Regions from separate parts of the Homo sapiens genome. Here regions 1, 3, 4, 5 and 6 are each linked to region 2. Evidence: promoter capture Hi-C in human tissues and cell types (Jung and others, 2019). All regions are on one chromosome and are shown on one strand. Each heading gives the region's core, a stretch centred on a gene start or on the middle of the fragment in contact. The rest is flanking DNA. Distances are from core to core; before and after follow the strand shown. Region 1 has its middle 100 kb from the start of LINC00494. Region 2 holds the start of SULF2 (sulfatase 2). Region 3 has its middle 130 kb from the start of LINC00494. Region 4 has its middle 73 kb from the start of LINC00494. Region 5 holds the start of LOC105372643 (a long non-coding RNA gene). Region 6 overlaps PREX1 (phosphatidylinositol-3,4,5-trisphosphate dependent Rac exchange factor 1).

The links. The method cuts DNA at HindIII sites, captures the fragments that hold promoters and counts their contacts. A contact is called where the count stands out against the background at its distance.
Region 1: a fragment that was not itself captured here is called in contact with the fragment with the promoter of SULF2 in region 2 in 2 of the 25 tissues and cell types used here (lymphoblastoid cells and spleen).
Region 3: a fragment that was not itself captured here is called in contact with the fragment with the promoter of SULF2 in region 2 in 5 of the 25 tissues and cell types used here (IMR-90 fibroblasts, aorta, heart left ventricle and 2 more).
Region 4: a fragment that was not itself captured here is called in contact with the fragment with the promoter of SULF2 in region 2 in 3 of the 25 tissues and cell types used here (IMR-90 fibroblasts, dorsolateral prefrontal cortex and lymphoblastoid cells).
Region 5: a fragment that was not itself captured here is called in contact with the fragment with the promoter of SULF2 in region 2 in 5 of the 25 tissues and cell types used here (dorsolateral prefrontal cortex, heart right ventricle, lymphoblastoid cells and 2 more).
Region 6: a fragment that was not itself captured here is called in contact with the fragment with the promoter of SULF2 in region 2 in 1 of the 25 tissues and cell types used here (hippocampus).

Annotation. Positions count from the first base shown.
Region 1 is chr20:48,460,273-48,462,981 of GRCh38, forward strand. No RefSeq gene overlaps it. Among named protein-coding and RNA genes, the nearest start is that of LINC00494, 100 kb to the left of the region's middle. RefSeq lists an enhancer at 470-609. The HindIII fragment of the contact is 7,169 bases long and covers 1-2,709 here.
Region 2 is chr20:47,784,031-47,786,730 of GRCh38, forward strand. SULF2 (sulfatase 2) reads right to left here and starts at 1,451. Exons shown (of 21, transcript NM_001387048.1): 1 at 1,313-1,451. It overlaps LOC124904920 (a long non-coding RNA gene), which reads left to right and starts at 1,724. Exons shown (of 2, transcript XR_007067618.1): 1 at 1,724-2,132; 2 at 2,375-2,700. RefSeq lists an enhancer at 2,569-2,700. The HindIII fragment of the contact is 5,454 bases long and covers 1-2,700 here.
Region 3 is chr20:48,484,487-48,487,186 of GRCh38, forward strand. No RefSeq gene overlaps it. Among named protein-coding and RNA genes, the nearest start is that of LINC00494, 130 kb to the left of the region's middle. The HindIII fragment of the contact is 5,666 bases long and covers 1-2,700 here.
Region 4 is chr20:48,431,702-48,434,401 of GRCh38, forward strand. No RefSeq gene overlaps it. Among named protein-coding and RNA genes, the nearest start is that of LINC00494, 73 kb to the left of the region's middle. The HindIII fragment of the contact is 3,229 bases long and covers 1-2,700 here.
Region 5 is chr20:48,392,223-48,394,922 of GRCh38, forward strand. LOC105372643 (a long non-coding RNA gene) reads left to right here and starts at 1,959. Exons shown (of 3, transcript XR_936812.3): 1 at 1,959-2,700. The HindIII fragment of the contact is 7,322 bases long and covers 1-2,700 here.
Region 6 is chr20:48,657,438-48,660,137 of GRCh38, forward strand. PREX1 (phosphatidylinositol-3,4,5-trisphosphate dependent Rac exchange factor 1) reads right to left here. Exons shown (of 40, transcript NM_020820.4): 16 at 2,482-2,624; 17 at 699-791. Among named protein-coding and RNA genes, the nearest start is that of PREX1, 170 kb to the right of the region's middle. The HindIII fragment of the contact is 7,109 bases long and covers 1-2,700 here.

The sequences.
Region 1 (2,709 bases), core at 71-2,570, 680 kb after region 2:
CACCTGGGATCAGGCCCTGGGGAACAGCTATGGGGGACAGGGACTCCCAGTGCACAGAACAGGCCATGAGCTGGACAAGCTGCTCCTTCTCATAATGTCAGACCCTTCTGCTGACCCACCTAGGACCGGGAGCTTGCAGACAATCCTGGGCCCAGAGAAGCAGGCAGATGTGGCTGTTGGTAGCACTAATATGGGTTGTGAATATCACCTGGTAGTTATTATTACTTTACTTACTTTACCCCAGCCACTTGATCCTGCACACATCCCCTCACTTCATGCTCTGGATGAAGTTGGGGACCCCTGGATGAGACCACACCATGGGCCTGAAAGTCACGGGAGGAATTATATTAGATGTGGTGGTCTTGGAGGGCTGCTAGGAGGAGGAGAAATGTGTAGAGAGCTGGATGGACTGAGTGATGAGCAATACACATTTCTAGAGGAAGAGAGTGCAGGCAGAGAAAACAGCAAGTGCAGAGTCCCTGCGCTGGGAAAGGTCAGTGTGACCACAGTGGAGTGACAGAGAGGGAGGAGAGGAGGTCTGAGAGCTACCTGAGGCCCAGATCATGTGGGGCTCTCCAGGCCACAGCCAGGAGTGTGGATCTGCTTCTGAGTGAGGGAAGAAGCCATTGGAAGGTTCAGGGCAGTGAGCCGAGATGTGAGTGACATGATCTGATTTGCATCTGCCTCCGTCATGACTTTCGAAATAGCTGCATCTCATCTATATTCTGATCTAGTCAAAATTTATCTCTAAATCAGTTACATTTTTAGAATTTTTTAAAGGAACTTTGATATTCCACTACTGCAAATGAAAAATCAGTATCACTTCCATGAATAGAAGAGTATCCATGAAAACACACAACAAAAACAGAGCCGTGTTATTACTTTCTAGCCAGAGGCTGCTAAAGACGATGCACCTGAAACCTGTGCTCCCTTTGTAACCACCCAAGGGGTTCACCTTGCCCACTGCCTAGACTGAGCCGACTTATCAAGACAGGGGAAATTGCAATGGAGAAAGTAACCCATGCAGAGCCGGCTGTGCGGGAGACTGGAGCTTTATTGTTACTCAAATCAGTCTCCCTGAGCATTCGGGGATCAGAGTTCTTAAAGATAATTTGGTAAGTAGGCGCTCAGAAAGTGGGGAGAGCTGATTGGTCAGGTTGGAGATGGAATCATGGGGGTAGAAGTGAGGTTTTCATGCTGTCTTCTGTTCCTGGGTGGGACGGCGGAACTGGTTGAGGCAGATGACCGGTCTGGGTGGTGTCAGCTGATCCATCAAGTGCAGGGGCTGCAAAATATCTCAAGCGCTGATCTTAGGTTTTACAACAGTGATGTTATTCCCAGGAGCAATTTGGGGAGGTTCAGACTCTTGCAGCCAGAGGCTGTAATTTGTTAGTCCTGCAAAGGCAGACGGCTCCCCAGGCAAGAAAAGGCTATAACCAATTTTGTTTGAGTCAAATCATGAACTGAATTCTTTCTCAAAGTTAGTTTGGCCTGTGCCCAGCAAGGAACAAGGGCAGTTTAAAGGTTAGAAGCAAGATAGAGTCAGTTAGGTGTGATGTCTTTGACTGTCATAATTTCCTCAGTTATAATTTGTGTGAAGGCAGTTTCACCTTTGTCTCTCTCAAGCAGTAGAGAGGTATTGAAGTCACATGAGCATTGAACTGAAACTATCTCCATGACTATCTCAGAGAGACTGAAAGACACTGGGCAAGGGAATACATTTCACACTGTGGGATTCCACAGCGTTTCATGCTGGTTCAGGAACCACCCAAAATCATCTCACATATTCACATATCATTTTTTTTTTTTTTTTGAGACGGTGTTTCGCTCTTTCACCCAGGCTGGAGTACAGTGGCGCGATCTCGGCTCACTGCAACCTCCATCTCCCGGGTTCAAGCGATCCTCCTGCCTCAGCCTCCTGGGTAGCTGGTGTTATAGATGTCCGCCACCATGCCCAACTAATTTTTGTATTTTTAGTAGAGACGGAGTTTTGCCACGTTGGCCAGGCTGGTCTTGAACTCCTAACCTCAGGTGATCCACCTGCCTCAGACTCCCAGAGCGCTAGGATTACAGCTGAGAGCCACAACGCCTGGCCTATCTCACGTATCTTTGGTGGGCACCCCTCCACTCTTTGGGGAAACACCATTTTGAAATACAGTATATTTTCAATTTGATATTTAAGGTCCTCAAGGGAACAAAATCATAAGATTTTTATCTTTTCCTCCTCAAACACATGGTGGTAAATGCTTCATAGATATTCATCTCTACCCTTTACCTTCAGAAGCCATGGGGATGTTGCTTTGGTTTTGGTTTTGGGTTTTGCTGGAGCGTTTGGGTGTTTATCTTTTGCATAGTTGTTTAGGAGATAACCATGGGCTACAGGAGAAGGAGAGACGTTTTTGCACTACTTTTCTTTCCCCTGACCATCCTGATGGGCATAATTGCTACTGCACCAGCCTCATCCTTTCTCCCGGGTCCACTCCTGCCCTTTCCAGCCTGTTGTCCATGTGGCAGCCAGAGAGCTCATTGTGGAGTGTGAAGGTCACAGTGCCCCCTGCTCAGACATCTATGATGCTCATGACATTGCACGAAACCCTCCTTCCTCATCATGGCACTCAAGACTGCTCCCTGCCAGCCTCTCTGTCCTGCTCCAACCTCAGGGCACCCCAAACAGACCTTCTCTCTGACCTTTGAACTTGCTGAACCCTT
Region 2 (2,700 bases), core at 201-2,700:
AGAAATCACCTTCACTATTCACTACAAGCTGAAATTTGGAGAGCGCGCAGATCCGGGGGTGTCCTCCAGAGAAAGCCCGTCTCTCCTGCTCCCTGTCTCCCCCTGAGAACCTGCTCCAGCGCAGCCTCCCCTTCTCTGCCCCAAAAGTGGGGGTGGACCCGGTGGGAAACAGGCAGGGGACAGATGGAGGGGCGAGAGGGCGGGTGTCCCAACACGCACAGATGAGCAAATACCCAGATTGAAACGTAAGCTGAATGTAATTACTTGGTTAATTAAATATTGACTTTTAACTCAAAAAGTGATTAAAACAAGCTGCAGGAAGACTTTCCAGAAAGGGGGGCAGGGAATGAATCAAAGCTTTCAAGGGGGAGGAGGAGGAGGAGAGGGTCGTCACAGGCAGGTCTGGCTTGCTCTTCCTACTGTGTGCTGGGCCTACTGCGTGCAGGTGGGGGAGTTGCGGACCGAGGCCAGTGTGCAAACTAGGATTGCAGGCTTCCCTTTCCATCTTCCACCCCGAGACGGCATCTCTCTACCCTGCTGCCCTCCCAGTGAACCGGCAGCTTCTGGCGCGCAGGAGCCAGATCCTGTTCAGCCGCGTTTCCCTGGAACAGAACGCGGTGCCCGGCACGAGGGGGTGCTCCAGAAATGCTTGTAGAACGAATGAACGAACTACTATAAGGAATGTTTGGAAAAGTGCACTCCTAGAATTCACCGCTAGACTTCTGAAACCCCGAGGAGCCGGGGAGGGGAGCATCCCTCCGCCAGGCGATGGAAACTCGTTCTGCCCTGGCCTGGGAGGAAGTCTGCCTTTTCGATCCTGTTTGTCCTTTCGGTGTCTGCGAGTTTCCAACCACTCTGAAGATCCGGCCCACTGCTTCCCCGAGTCCTGCCCGGACAAGCCCCACGTGGGCTGGCATCTACCGGTCCCTTGGGTCTAAACCCTAAGGGTCAACAAGGCCATGCCCCTGCGGATGGCCGGCCCAGGCGCGCTCCCCTACCCGGGGCCGCCTGTGCTCGGTGTGCCGTGTCCGCGGGTCAGGGGCGCGGCGGGAAGTCCTCGCCCGCCCGCCAGCCAGCGGGGTCAAACAGGTCATCCCTCTGCGGACGGCCGGCGCCGGAGCCTCCCTCCCGCCCGCCCGGACCCACCTCCGCAAGCAGCGCTGGGGCTGGAGCCGGGCGGTCCGGACCAGCCCCGGCTCACCTGGGCGGCGCTCGCGGCCGGGCTCACGCCGGGGAAGGCTCCGGCCGCCGCGAGCCCCCGCCCGAGCCCCGCGTCCCCCAGCCACCCACCTGCCCCCCACGCCCCACTCACCAGCGCGCACGGCCCCGGCAACCTCACCCGGAGCGGGGCGCCGCCGCCGCCTCTGCCGCAGCCCGGCCGGGCCGCTGGGCGCAGGGGACTCCGCGCCGCCGCTGCCGCTGCCGCCGCCGCCGCCGCCGCTGCCGCTGCTGCATCCCCCGGCGAGCGCTGCTGCTCCTCCTCCTGCCTCCTCCCCGCCCCCCAACGCCGCCGCCACCGCCCCCGGCCCCCTCCCCGCGCGCCGCCCCAGCCAAAGTCCGGCTCCGCACCCCGCCCGGACCGCTCTTAAATCGCCCCAGCCCGGCCGGCCACGCTGCCCCAGCCAGCCCCTTGGCACGGCGCTACCGCCCCCCGCTCGCCTGCCCGCCGGCCTCCACGCAGGGGAGGCGGGCGCGCTCCGGGGCGGGGAGCGTCGGGCCGGGAGCCGCGGACGGCTGGGGCCCGGGGCGCGGGGGGCCCAGCCGCGGTGCCCTCCTCGAGCCCTCCGCGCGCTAGCGCTTTTACCTCCGGCCTGGGGGACGCGCGGCCCGCGACCCGGCCCTGCCTGTCCCCGGCGCACGGCCCCGGCCCCGGCCCCGAAGTCCAGCTCCGGACGGGGCAGTGAACGCAGAGCTGGGGTCCCGGCGGCTCTCGACCTCCCGATGCCTCCGGACTCGGCTGGCCGCGCTCCCGGCGCCGAGCGCGCACCCTCGCCGGGACACACAGACGCACACTCACTCGACACACTCTCGCTCCTGCTCGCCCTCGGCGGAGAGTTGAAACAGATGTGGGATTCGCCCAGGAGCTGGAAACGAGGGAGGGAAGCGAGCCAGAGCCTTGTGTGCACGTGTGTGTGCGTAACACACAAACCAGGGGGCATCGCTAATAAATCAAATATCGTGATAAATTCAGGAGGGCCATCGATCAGGTCCACTTGGCTGGAAACGACGTGAATCTGCCTCTTTTCCGCTTTCTTCTTCTCCTCTCTCGGAGCTGGAGGGAGCCAAATGTTCCGCGGGGAGTGCGACAGCCCCGGCCGGGCGCTCCCCTCGTAATGACACGTTAATAAATGTTTTCTTTTATCTGCTTTCACAGGACTCGCCCCGGTCTGCAAACACTCGACTGCCTTTGCCGAAAGCCTCGCGCTCGCCTCCAGCCACACACATTTGCCATTGGAGAGGCCGGCGCCGGCCGCGACCCGCAGCTCAATCGCAGGGCAAACCGAGCTGCCTGTGCGCGCCCGAGAACTCCCCGAGAAATTAACTTCGGCTCAAGTGAAAATAGCAGCTGTTGTCCAGAAATGGCCCGGGAGTAGCATAGAAAGGAGAAACCGGCTTCCTCCGAAAGGGGAGGAATTGGACTCAAGGGGGTGCTGTCTACCGTGGTTTCCGCTGTCCCTCGCGCCACAGAAGAGGCCGGAG
Region 3 (2,700 bases), core at 3-2,502, 700 kb after region 2:
AGGGAGCAGGTTCGAGCTCCTCCTGAGGCAGAATGAGCGGAAGGCTCTCTCCGTCTCCTGAGTGTCAGGCTGGACTCAAAAGGGAGAGAAAATTGTTTAAATGAAACAAAACACTGTCATTGCAATGTGACATTCTCTTCCCTTTTTTTTCCTTTTTTTTTTTTTTTTTTGGACACAGGTTCTTGTTCTGTCACCCACCCAGGCTGGATTACAGGGGCATGATCTTGACTCACTGCAGCCTCAACCTTCCAGGCTCAGATGATCCTCCTGCCTCCTCAGTAGCTGGGACCACAGGCATGTGCCACCACATCTGGCTTTTTTTTTTTTTTAAGACATGAAGTCTCGCCACATTGCCCAGGCTGGTGGATTACAGGTGTCAGCCACCACACCTGGCTCCCTTCCCTATCTCACCTGACAGTGTCTCTACATCCCCATCTCTTACCACTCTCCCAATTTCTTAGATACTCTGTCCCCATCTCTGATCCTCCTGATCTCTGGCCTTTGCACTTGCTGTTCCTTCCACCTAGTGTGCTGTTCCCTCAAATCACCCATGGCAGCCCCTTCTTATCCTTCAGGACTCAGCCCACATGTCACCTCCTCAGAGAGGCCTTCCCAGACCACCCAAAATGAGACAGTAGCTCCACCCCCATGACTCTTTATCCCATCTCCCAATCTGTGTCCTTTATTGTATCTTTCACAGTCTGAATGATGTTTATGTGTTGACCTGCATGCTGTCCATCCTCATAGACTGGAACTTCCTGAGAGTGTCATGAGATCAGATGGCTCTTACGGCTCTTACTCACCGCTGTGTCCCAGACACCAGCACAGCAGCCTGTGTTTAAAGATGGTCTGTCAATATTTGTTAAGTGACTGGACAGATACGGAAGTGGACAGTTACACTGACAGTTTTTACAGGGGGACGTGTTGCTTTGTCTTCGACTTGTTCCATTGTTCTCGTATATAACGTGGGCCTGACCAGAAGGAGGTGCTGCTTGGACATGACAAAAAACTTTCACACAATCTGTTGGACAATAAACCACATAAGTACCCCTTCTCTATCCATTATTCTACACCTTTGTGGATACATCAATAGATTTCATGTGGGCTCAGGAATTTTGAAATATATATTTTAACAAATTGCTCATATAGACAGGGATCCTAAAATATAGACAGACATATAGATAGTCACCTGAGCCCTGCACACTCTACGCATGACTTTGCAATCCATCCTTTGAGGAAGTCTGCAGCAAAGACGGCCCTTCAGAGCTGTGATGAATCGAGTCAAGGGGCTGGACCTTTAGACCCCTGTGTTTACTACTAGTCTTTGGAGATGGAGGGACCCCAGGAAGGGTGACTGGGCAAAGCAGCTCCTGTCAGCCAGGGGCATTTTCTGGGGAGGGTCTCAGCTGTGAGCTCTCAGCAGGCAACCCCCTGGGCAGTGGGGCATGCATGCCTGCTCCTGAAAGGGGATGTGGGGGACACATCCCAGCATCTGCTCCAAGCCATGAATCTTTCTCACCAAGGCCATTGTGCAAAAGCTTCCTGACAGGCCTCCCTTCTTCCACTCTTGCTTTCCCTATTTTCCACACAGCAGCCAGAGGAAGCCTGTGAAACCCAGGTCAGGTCCTGTGCTTCCTCTGCTCAGAACTCTCCATGGTTTCCACATACTCAGAGTAAAACCCCGAGCTTCATGATAACCATGAGGCCCGCAGCTTCTGCCCCCAAGGCTTCTCTGACCTCACCTCCCGCTGCTCCTCTCCTCACTCGGCCGCAGCTGTGGCTCCCTCCCTGATTTTCCTGGAACATGCCAGCACACCTGTTGCTGGCTTTGTACTCACTATTCTTTTGCCTGGAAGGCTCCACCCTTGTCATCCTGGCCCACAGCCTCAGCTCCTCCGGTCTTTGCTCAAATGGTGGCTTCTCAGCGGGGTCTTCCCTGACCATCCTACTGAAAATCAACAACCACCCCCCATAGGGGGTTGAACAAGGGCCCCCCATACATGTCTACATTCAAACCCCTGGGACCTGTGTATATGTCCATTGCAAAGAGGTTTTGCTGATGTAATTAAGTAAAGGATCTTGAGATAGAAAGATGACTCTAGATGACCTGGCTGGGCCCAGTGTAATCACAGGGGTCCTTATAAGAGGGAGGCAGGAGAGTCTGAGTCAGAGGAGCTATAGTGACAGGGCAGAGACTGGAATCATGTGCTTGAATATGGAGGAAGGGGCCGCGAGCCCAGGAATACAAGGGGCTTAAAGGAAAACACAGGCCAGACCAGCACTTTGGGAGGCAGAGGCAGGTGGATCACTTGAGGTCAGGAGTTCGAGACCAGCCAGGCCAACATGGTGAAATACCATCTCTACTAACACAAAAAAAATTAGCCGGACATGGTGCACACACATGTAGTCCCAGCTACTTGGGAAGTTGAGGCAGAAGAATATCTTGAACCCAGGAGGCAGAGGCTGCAGTGAGCCAAGATTGGACCACTGCACTGCAGCCTGGGCAATAGAGTGAGATTCTGCCTCTAAAAAAAAGAAAGAGACAAAGAAAGATGGCAGGGCGGGGTGTTGGGGAGAGAGAGAGAGAGAGAGAAAAGAAGGAAGGAAGGAAGGAAGGAAGGACAGGAGGAAGGGAAAGGAAAGGAGAGGAGAGGAGAAAGAAGGAAAGAAAGAAAGAAAGAAAGAAAGAAAGAAAGAAAG
Region 4 (2,700 bases), core at 39-2,538, 650 kb after region 2:
AAGGAAGGAAGTCAGTACAGAGTGAGTATCTGAAGAGAAGGAAAGAAGTCAGTAGAGAGTATCTGAGGAGAAGGAAAGAAGTCAGTACAGAGCAAGTATCTGAGGAGAAGAAAGGAAGTCAGTACAGACCGAGGACCCAAGGAGGTTCTGATCTGGGCCACTAGGGCTTCCTCCCACTGGGGGCCTCTTGAAGAGCTGGGCTGTTTGTGCACTGACTCCTGTCTGTCGCTGGTTGTGGAAGGTTCCTAGAGTCATAACTGCCTGACCCTTCCCCCTACATGGGCTGAGCATGCCCCAGCAGCCAGAGAAAGCCCCTGGCCCACAGTTGGAGGGGCTGGTTATAGGAAGCCGTTGCATAGATGTAAACCAGGAGCCTAAGGACCAGGCACAAAAGCCTCTGTCACACTGTCCCTGCAGCTGGGGTGAGTCTGCGAGTAGCTAAAACTGTTACAGGAAAGGAGTACCAATCCAGACCCCAAGAGAGGGTTCTTGGATCTCACACAAGAAAGAATTCAGGGCAAGTCCACAGAGTAAAGTGAAAGCAAGTTTATTAGAAAAGTAAAGGAATAAAAGAATGGCTAGTCCGCAGACAGAGCAGCCCTGAGGGTGGGCCCATTTTTATGGTTATTTCTTGGTGATATGCCAAACAAGGGGCGGATTATTCATGCCTCCTATTTTTAGACCATATAGGGTAACTTCCTGACGTTGCCATGGCATTTGTAAACTGTCATGGTGCTGGGGGGAGTGTAGCAGTGAGGACAACCAGAGGTCACTCTCGTGGCCATTTTGGTTTTGGTGGGCTTTGGCTGGCTTCTCTACTGCAGCCTGTTTTATCAGCGAGGTCTTTATGACCTGTATCTCGTGCCAACCTTCTCATCCTGTGACTTAGAATGCCTGTCTGGGAATGCCCTTTATGACCTGTATCTCGTGCCAACCTTCTCATCCTGTGACTTAGAGTGCCTGTCTGGGAATGCAGCCCAGTAGATCTCAGCCTCATTTTACCCAGCTCCTATTTAAGATGGAGCTGCTCCGGTTTACATGCTTCCTACAAAACCAGGCTTGGCTTTATTTTCACCTCCACATTCCCAGCGTGTCTGCTGACTAAATGGATGAATCCATCTTTGGAGTTTTTTTTACCCTTGGAGGGTAGGAGGAATTTTTCAGCCGGTGGGTTCAGCAGGAGCTACAGTGACTGAATGGCCCCTAAAAAGTAGCAAATGTCTGAGTTGCCATTTGTTGAAGGTTCATGGAAATGCCAAGTCCAAGTGGCAATTAGCATGAGTCTGTGGGATTTCCCGCCTGAAAAGCAAATGAAGGATTTCTTCTATTCTTCTGAATTGTAAACCAAGAATAAAATTCTAAGCCCCCCAAGCAACTGAATGGACCCCTCCTGTCAGCCAAGGGTACCCTAAATCAACCTGAAACACTAGTTCAAGCCACGATGGGAATGGATGGTCAGACAGGCCTCATTACACCTCGTCCTTTTGCAGTTGAGGCACAGCTGACCAGCATTAACATTAAAACAGAGTCCTAAAGACTGACAATAGACTTTTTATAGCAATAAGATACCAACATGACAGCGGGCTCTGAAAGAAATTGAAGTATTTTACCCTAAAATATATTTCTTTGACATATTGTGAAATAGCCCTGATAAGAAACATGTATTAGGTTGGTGCAAAAGTAATTGCGGTTTTTGCCATTTAAAGTAATGGTATTAAAAGTAATTGTAATGCCATTAAAAGTAATACAATCTCTTCTCTCTAAAGCCAGCTACTTGGAGGCTTCATCTGTGTAATAAGAACCTCAGTCACCACAGCCCCTTATCTTAACCCAGACACTCCTTTCTATTGATTCCGAGACTTTAGGTAACCACTTAACTCTTTCAACCAATTGCCAATCAGAAAATCTTTGAATCCACCTATGTCCTGGAAGCACCCCACTTTGAGTTGTCCCACCTTTTTGAACCAAACCAGTGTACATCTTACATGTATCGATTGATGTCTTATGTCTCTCTAACATGTATAAAACCAAGCTATAGTCTGACCCCCTTGGGCACGTGTTCTCAGGCTCTCCTGGGGCTTTGTCATGGGTCATGGTCACTCAAATCTGAATGTGACCATGGATCGTGGTCACTCACATCAGAATAAATCTCTCCAAATACTTGACAGGGGTTGATTGTTTTCATCAACGATAATAGAAGATAGTTTCATTTAAGGAAAGCTTTGAAAGTCAACAAAACTCCAGGCATTTCTTTTAAGGGCGCCCCCGCCCACCACCCTTTGTTTTTCCCTTCACAGATAAAAACAGGGAGTTCCCTCCCAAGCAACAAGGCTCTTGAAGTGGAGTGGGGATGAAGGGGCACTTCGTCTCAACAGGGCCTCCCTTGGAGAATTTAATGTCTGCTGGATGCTCCCTTGAAAAGAAATAAACCTCATATGCCAAATATTTAGCCCTCCAAAACTGATAAAGGAGGAAAGGGAATTACCATTTCAGCAGGGGATAACTTACTTTCAGATTTTTTTTTTTTTAAAGACAGAGTTTCATTCTTGTTGCCTAGGCTGGAGTGCAGTGGTGCAATCTCAGCTTACTGCAATCTCTGCCTCCTGGGTTCAAGAGATTCTCCTGCCTCAGCCTCCAGAGTAGCTAGGATTACAGGCACCCACCAACACACCCAGCTAATTTTTGTATTTTTACTAGAGA
Region 5 (2,700 bases), core at 35-2,534, 610 kb after region 2:
CAGCAGTCGTGATGGGTGAGGGATCTGGTGTCTCTCATTGTCCAGATACAGTGATCTGGTGAGTTTCAGTTTCTTGATGCTATGTGGGAGGACTGATGGCTGCTTTCTTGAGAAAGGAACTCAGATAAGACAAATGTAACTTTCTCAAGTTGAGACTGGGAGGGTCAATTTCTATGTTTACTCAAAAGAAACCATAAACATCAGTTCTATGGGACAATTGGGCTGGTTTTCGGGACAATTACCCCACCAAGTACAGGCGCAAAGCTGCAGGGAACACAGGATGCAACCGGAGGAGGGACTGGTCTCACCTCCATGGCTCTGATGCCTCATTATCACCTCCAAGCAGGAGCCCTGCTAGGCCTCTCCCACAGCCATAGGAGGCCCTGGAGAGCCCTGGTCTTAGTGCCCCTCACCATTCTCTGTCCCTGGTCACCAAGGACTGGCCAAGACCAAGTGGACTGCACCCTCTGCCACCCCCACGCAGGTGCCTGCTGCCCTGAGCTGCTTCCCTGATGGGCAGCCATGGGGCTTCCCCCTCTTCAGAGCCACTGCAGACAAAAGCTCTCACTGCCCAGAGCATGTGTTCTAGAACTCAAACAAGTAAATGACTGAGAAACTGAGTATGTGCAGGGGTGGCTGGGTTGTGGGACAAGGCAGGCAGGGAGGGGATGGAGGATGGGAAGGGCACTTGGGCTCGGGGAGTGGGAGGGGTCAAAGGTCTCAGGGAGAGTGGGGGATCCTCATGCCTCAGAGCTGGGGAAGACCGTAGTGGGGATGAGGGAGGACTTGGGTCCTGGGCCTCCTTGGCTGCCTGGGGATAAAGGGGAGATGGGAACAGCCGGCCAGTTCCCAGGGAAGCAATGGTAGGGCTGCGGCTATGAGCAAACCAGGGAACTGGGTCTTGCAGCGGCGCAGAGCTCTGGCATCTCTTCCGTCCCGTCCCTGGGCCAGGCCTAGAGGAGACTGGTCCGTAGCATGGTCCATGGTGTTGCTGCCCCTGTGGAGTTTCAGGAGCCCCAAGGGCTGCCCAGGGGCCAAAGCATCTCCTGTGACCTGCCCCCACCCAGCAAAGGGAGAACCTGGGATCCCCCTCTTCTGAAACAGTCTTTCCAGAGGCAGCTGCAGCTTCTCATCTCACAGAGGCAGCATCACTCAGAACCCCCAGAAAGGCCACTGATTAAATGCCACGGAGGAGAGTGGTGATGGGGTCTGTGGACGGCAGCTCAGAGCCAGAGACAGGACCGGGTGATGGATGGCCCCAGGCCCCGCCGCTCCCTGCCCAGTGCGTATTCTGGGTACAAGGGTAATTAAGAGAAGTGTTTCTTTTTTACAGCCAGGTGCCTTTCCCTCAGGTGCTGAGGTGGTTAGAGATTAAAACATCATGAACAGAATATGGAGTCACAGAGAAAGAGCAGCCAATGAGCCCAGCTTCCAGGAGGGTCACGGGAGGAGGTAGAGCCGCACCGTAGGTTACACAATGGCCACCCAGAGACACAAGTCCTCATCCTTGCAACCTGTACATGCAACCTTGCTTGTCAAAAGGGTTTGCAGATGTCATGAAGTTAAGGACTTTGACATGGAAGGATTGCGCTAGATCACCCAGGTGGCCCCTAAATGCTATCGCAAGAGTCCTTATGGGAAACAGGCAGAGGGAGATGACACAGACGCACAGAGGAGGAAGGGGCAGAGACTGGAGCGATGCAGTCACAAGCCCGAGAAGTGGGAGGAGGTGAGGGACCGAGTCGCCTGGGGAGCCCCTGGAGGGAACACAGCCCTGGGATTTTGGACTTCTGGCCTCCAGAACTGTGGGAGAACGAATTTCTATTGTTTTAAGGCACCAACTGAGTGGGAACTTGTTCTAGCAGCCCTAGGAAGCTGATGCAAGAGTGGGGAGAAGAAGCTGCCTTTATTCAGCCTAACTCACGGACAAAGCGGGAACAGAAATCCCACACATCATTTCCTTGTTGCTGAGGAACGGCTTTGCTGCCCAGAGCCCTTGGTGACTTACAACTCCTCGAGGTGGACTGATGGGCAGAGAAGGCTACTGAGACAGAGAAAAAACATAAAACAAAACAGGGATTTGTCAAGGCCCTTTGGTATTTAACCACAAAAGAGATATAAACAGCCAAGGGCCTAGATTCACTTTGAAGGCTCAGTAAGTGGGCCTTCAGCTAAGACAGGCTTCTGTCCATCAATCCATCCTTCATTTGCTGAGCAGGTATTGTGCCAGGCACTTTTCTAGGTCCTAGAATACAGCTCTGACCAGGACAGACCTGGCCCGGGCCCTCAGAGGGTGAGTGTTCTGGTAAAGGAGGCACAATAAACAAGGAAATAAAAAACAAGATTGAAGAGGGTGAAACTGCTCTACAGGAAACAAACTGGGAATTGAAAGAGCAAAGGGAAGAAAGGCCACATTGGATGGGGAGGTGAGGACGGCCTCTCTGAAGAGGTGAGCTTTGAGCTCAAGCTGAGCACTGAGAAGATTCCAGCCCAGTAACAGCTATCAGGAGATCACGCCAGGTCAAGGACACAGCAGGTGCCAAGGCCTGGAGGCAGGACTGGGCTGGACAAGTCCAGGGAACAGAGAGGATGCCAGGACTGAGGACGTAGGGAGAGCAGGTTGCAGGGATGCAGAAAGCGGTGCGGGGTGTGGATCAGGCAGAGCCTCCTGGGACAGGGTAAGCTCTTCTGGGGTTCACG
Region 6 (2,700 bases), core at 70-2,569, 870 kb after region 2:
GGGGCCTGACCCTGTTGTGTGGGGACACGAGGGTCACACCGGGGTGGCCATCTTATGTCTGTTAGGGCCTGGCGAAGAAAGATGAAGACCTGCTGACCCGAACCAAGATTCACAACTGCCTCCTTCCAACCGCTCACATCACTGGCAAGGTCAACCTAGCCGCTCCGGCCATGGGTATGTCGCTCCTTGCAGCCCAAAGCATTCCTAATTGCCACAGGGGCAAGCTGGGCTCCAGCCAGCACGGCAGGTGCATCTCCCCCACCCACCTGCACACGCCCCAGGCAAAGCCGGAAGGCCCCAGGGCTGAATCCTCGGCCAGCCACACCCTCACTCTCCTAACCTATCCTCCTGTAGGCTTTGCATCAGACAGCAATGAGCTTATCTTATTCAAGCCACTGTGACTGGTTGCAGAAAACTGAGACACCTGCTTTTTTCCTGTACCTCCCCACAATGTCCAGCAGAGGGCAGTGGTGGAACACACCAGGAGCACAGCCCCGGGACTCTGCACTCACTCCCAGCTACTGTAGCCACTGCAGACAGTGGGTCCTGGACTCAGTTTCTCCACGTGAGCAATGAGAGAAGAGGAGTCAGCGATCATTCCAGAATCTCCTGGGCTGGGCTGCCTCAAGGAGGGTGAAGAGAGACACCCCGCTCTGCCACCTGCACACGGTCCCTGCCAGCTCCCCCGAGGGCCTCACCTCAGCCAGCGAGCCCCTCTGGACGGACTTCACCACCACAGCCTTGTTCTTCTCCTCGATGTCAAAGCCATAGTCCTCCTCCTGGGGCAGGATCTGGGGGCCCAGGGCAGAAGGAACCCGGTCAGGGAGCGAGGTGGGCCTACGGCCAGCCCCACCGTGGCCCCCACAGGACCATGACCTCGTCCCAGGTCTAGTAGGGAAGTGGCCAGATCCAGGTGGGCGAGACAGAGCAAAACGCAAACAGCACCTGGCAGAGCCAGTGCTCACTCTGTGCCTGCCACTGGCTTAACGAATCACACGGATCCAAAGGTGTCCAGCCACCAAGAATGTGGAGTCAGGGAGTTTAGGGAGGAGCGGTCCCACCCCAGGGCAGGATGGCAGGCATGCTAGAAACAGGTCTGGGGGTTCCCCAGTGCGGGGGATACAGGGAAAGGCACTCATTCAGTCAACAGACATTGATTGAGATGCTGCCCATCACACGGGCCAGGCAGTTCTCATGGGTGCTGGAGACACCATCTAGAACAAGACAAACAAGCCCAGCCCTGCTTAGTGCGGGAGGCCAACTATAAACAAATAAACAAAAGAAATACAGGATGTGATGCAGGGAGTGTACGTAGTTGGAATTAAAGCACTTAATGGGATAGGGCACGGCAAGGGGGCAGAGAAGGTGCTATCGGAGCTGAGGCCTGAACGAAATGAAAAACAAAACTTCATAAAGAGTGGAGGAACATGCTCCAGGCAGCAGACACAGCACGTACAAAGGTCCTGAGGGAGGCCCCAAGGCACTGGAGGATAAGAAAAGAGATCAGGAGGTCAGGCGCAATGGCTCACGCTTGTAATCCCAGCACTTTGGGAGGCCGAGACGGGTTGATCGCTTGATCCCAGGAGTTCAAGACCAGCCTGGGCAACATAGCAAAACCCTGTCTTTATAAAAAATACAAAAATTAGCTGGGTGTGGTGGCGCAGGTCTGTTGTCCTAGCCACTGGGGAGGCAGAGGAGAGGAGAGAGGAGAGAGGGGAGGGGAGAAAGGGGAAGGGAGGGGAGAGAGGGGAATGGAGGGGAGGGGAGGGAAGAAAGAAAGGGGAGGAGAGAAAGAAAAGGAAGGAAGGAAGGAAGGAAGGAAGGACGGGCACGAGAGAGAGAGAGAAAGAAGAAAAGAAAACAAGAAAAGAGAAAAGAAAGAAGAGAGAGGAAGGAAGGAGGAAGGGAGGGAAAGAGGAAAGAGAGAAGGGGAGGGGAGGGGAGTGAGAGGTTTAATTTTATCCTAAGTGTGACGGGAAGCATTGGGGGACTTTACAGTGAGGGGCATGAAATCAGAGGGAACAGCAGTCCCTGCAGTACTATGGGAGAGAAGTTAATGGAGCCGTCTTCATATGAGTCAGGCTTCAGCTCCAACCCTGGCAGTGACCAGAAACCTAACCTCTGAGCCTCTGTCTTGACTGCCTGCTGCAGGCCACGCGTTAAGATGGGGGCTGCTGTGGGGTATGCAGGATGAGTTGCTTCAGGAGGCCAACCTCTCTATACAGTGTACGGGGAGGGGACAGGAGAGGCAAGGGAACAGAAAGGGAGACCTGCAAGCCCAATCTCTTTTGTTAGGAGGGTAGTCTCAGCCAGTGATGCAGCCTGGCTTCTTGGCAGAGTTGCCCCCTACCACCTAGAATCCACCTATTCTGGTACTCCAAGCTGAGCCCCCTTCCCTGTGCATAACCAGAAGGTCGCCCAGCTCCCATGCCTGCAGGGGGCTCTGGCAAGGAAGGGACAGCTGCTCAGCTGTGCTCCTACCAGCAGGCGCTTGGCCAGAATGTTCTCCACCAGCTTGAAGTCGTTGCGAAGCTGTTTGTTCTTGCTGCTGGTCCCCTCCATCTCCTCGTCAGCATGAAAGCGGAAGTACTGGGACTCATCCCTGAACTCGCTCTTCTCCAGCACTGCAGATCCACAGATGTGCACTCAGTGGTCAGATTCACAGGGAAAGTTTCAGCCATGTTTGCCAACTGGCAGGCA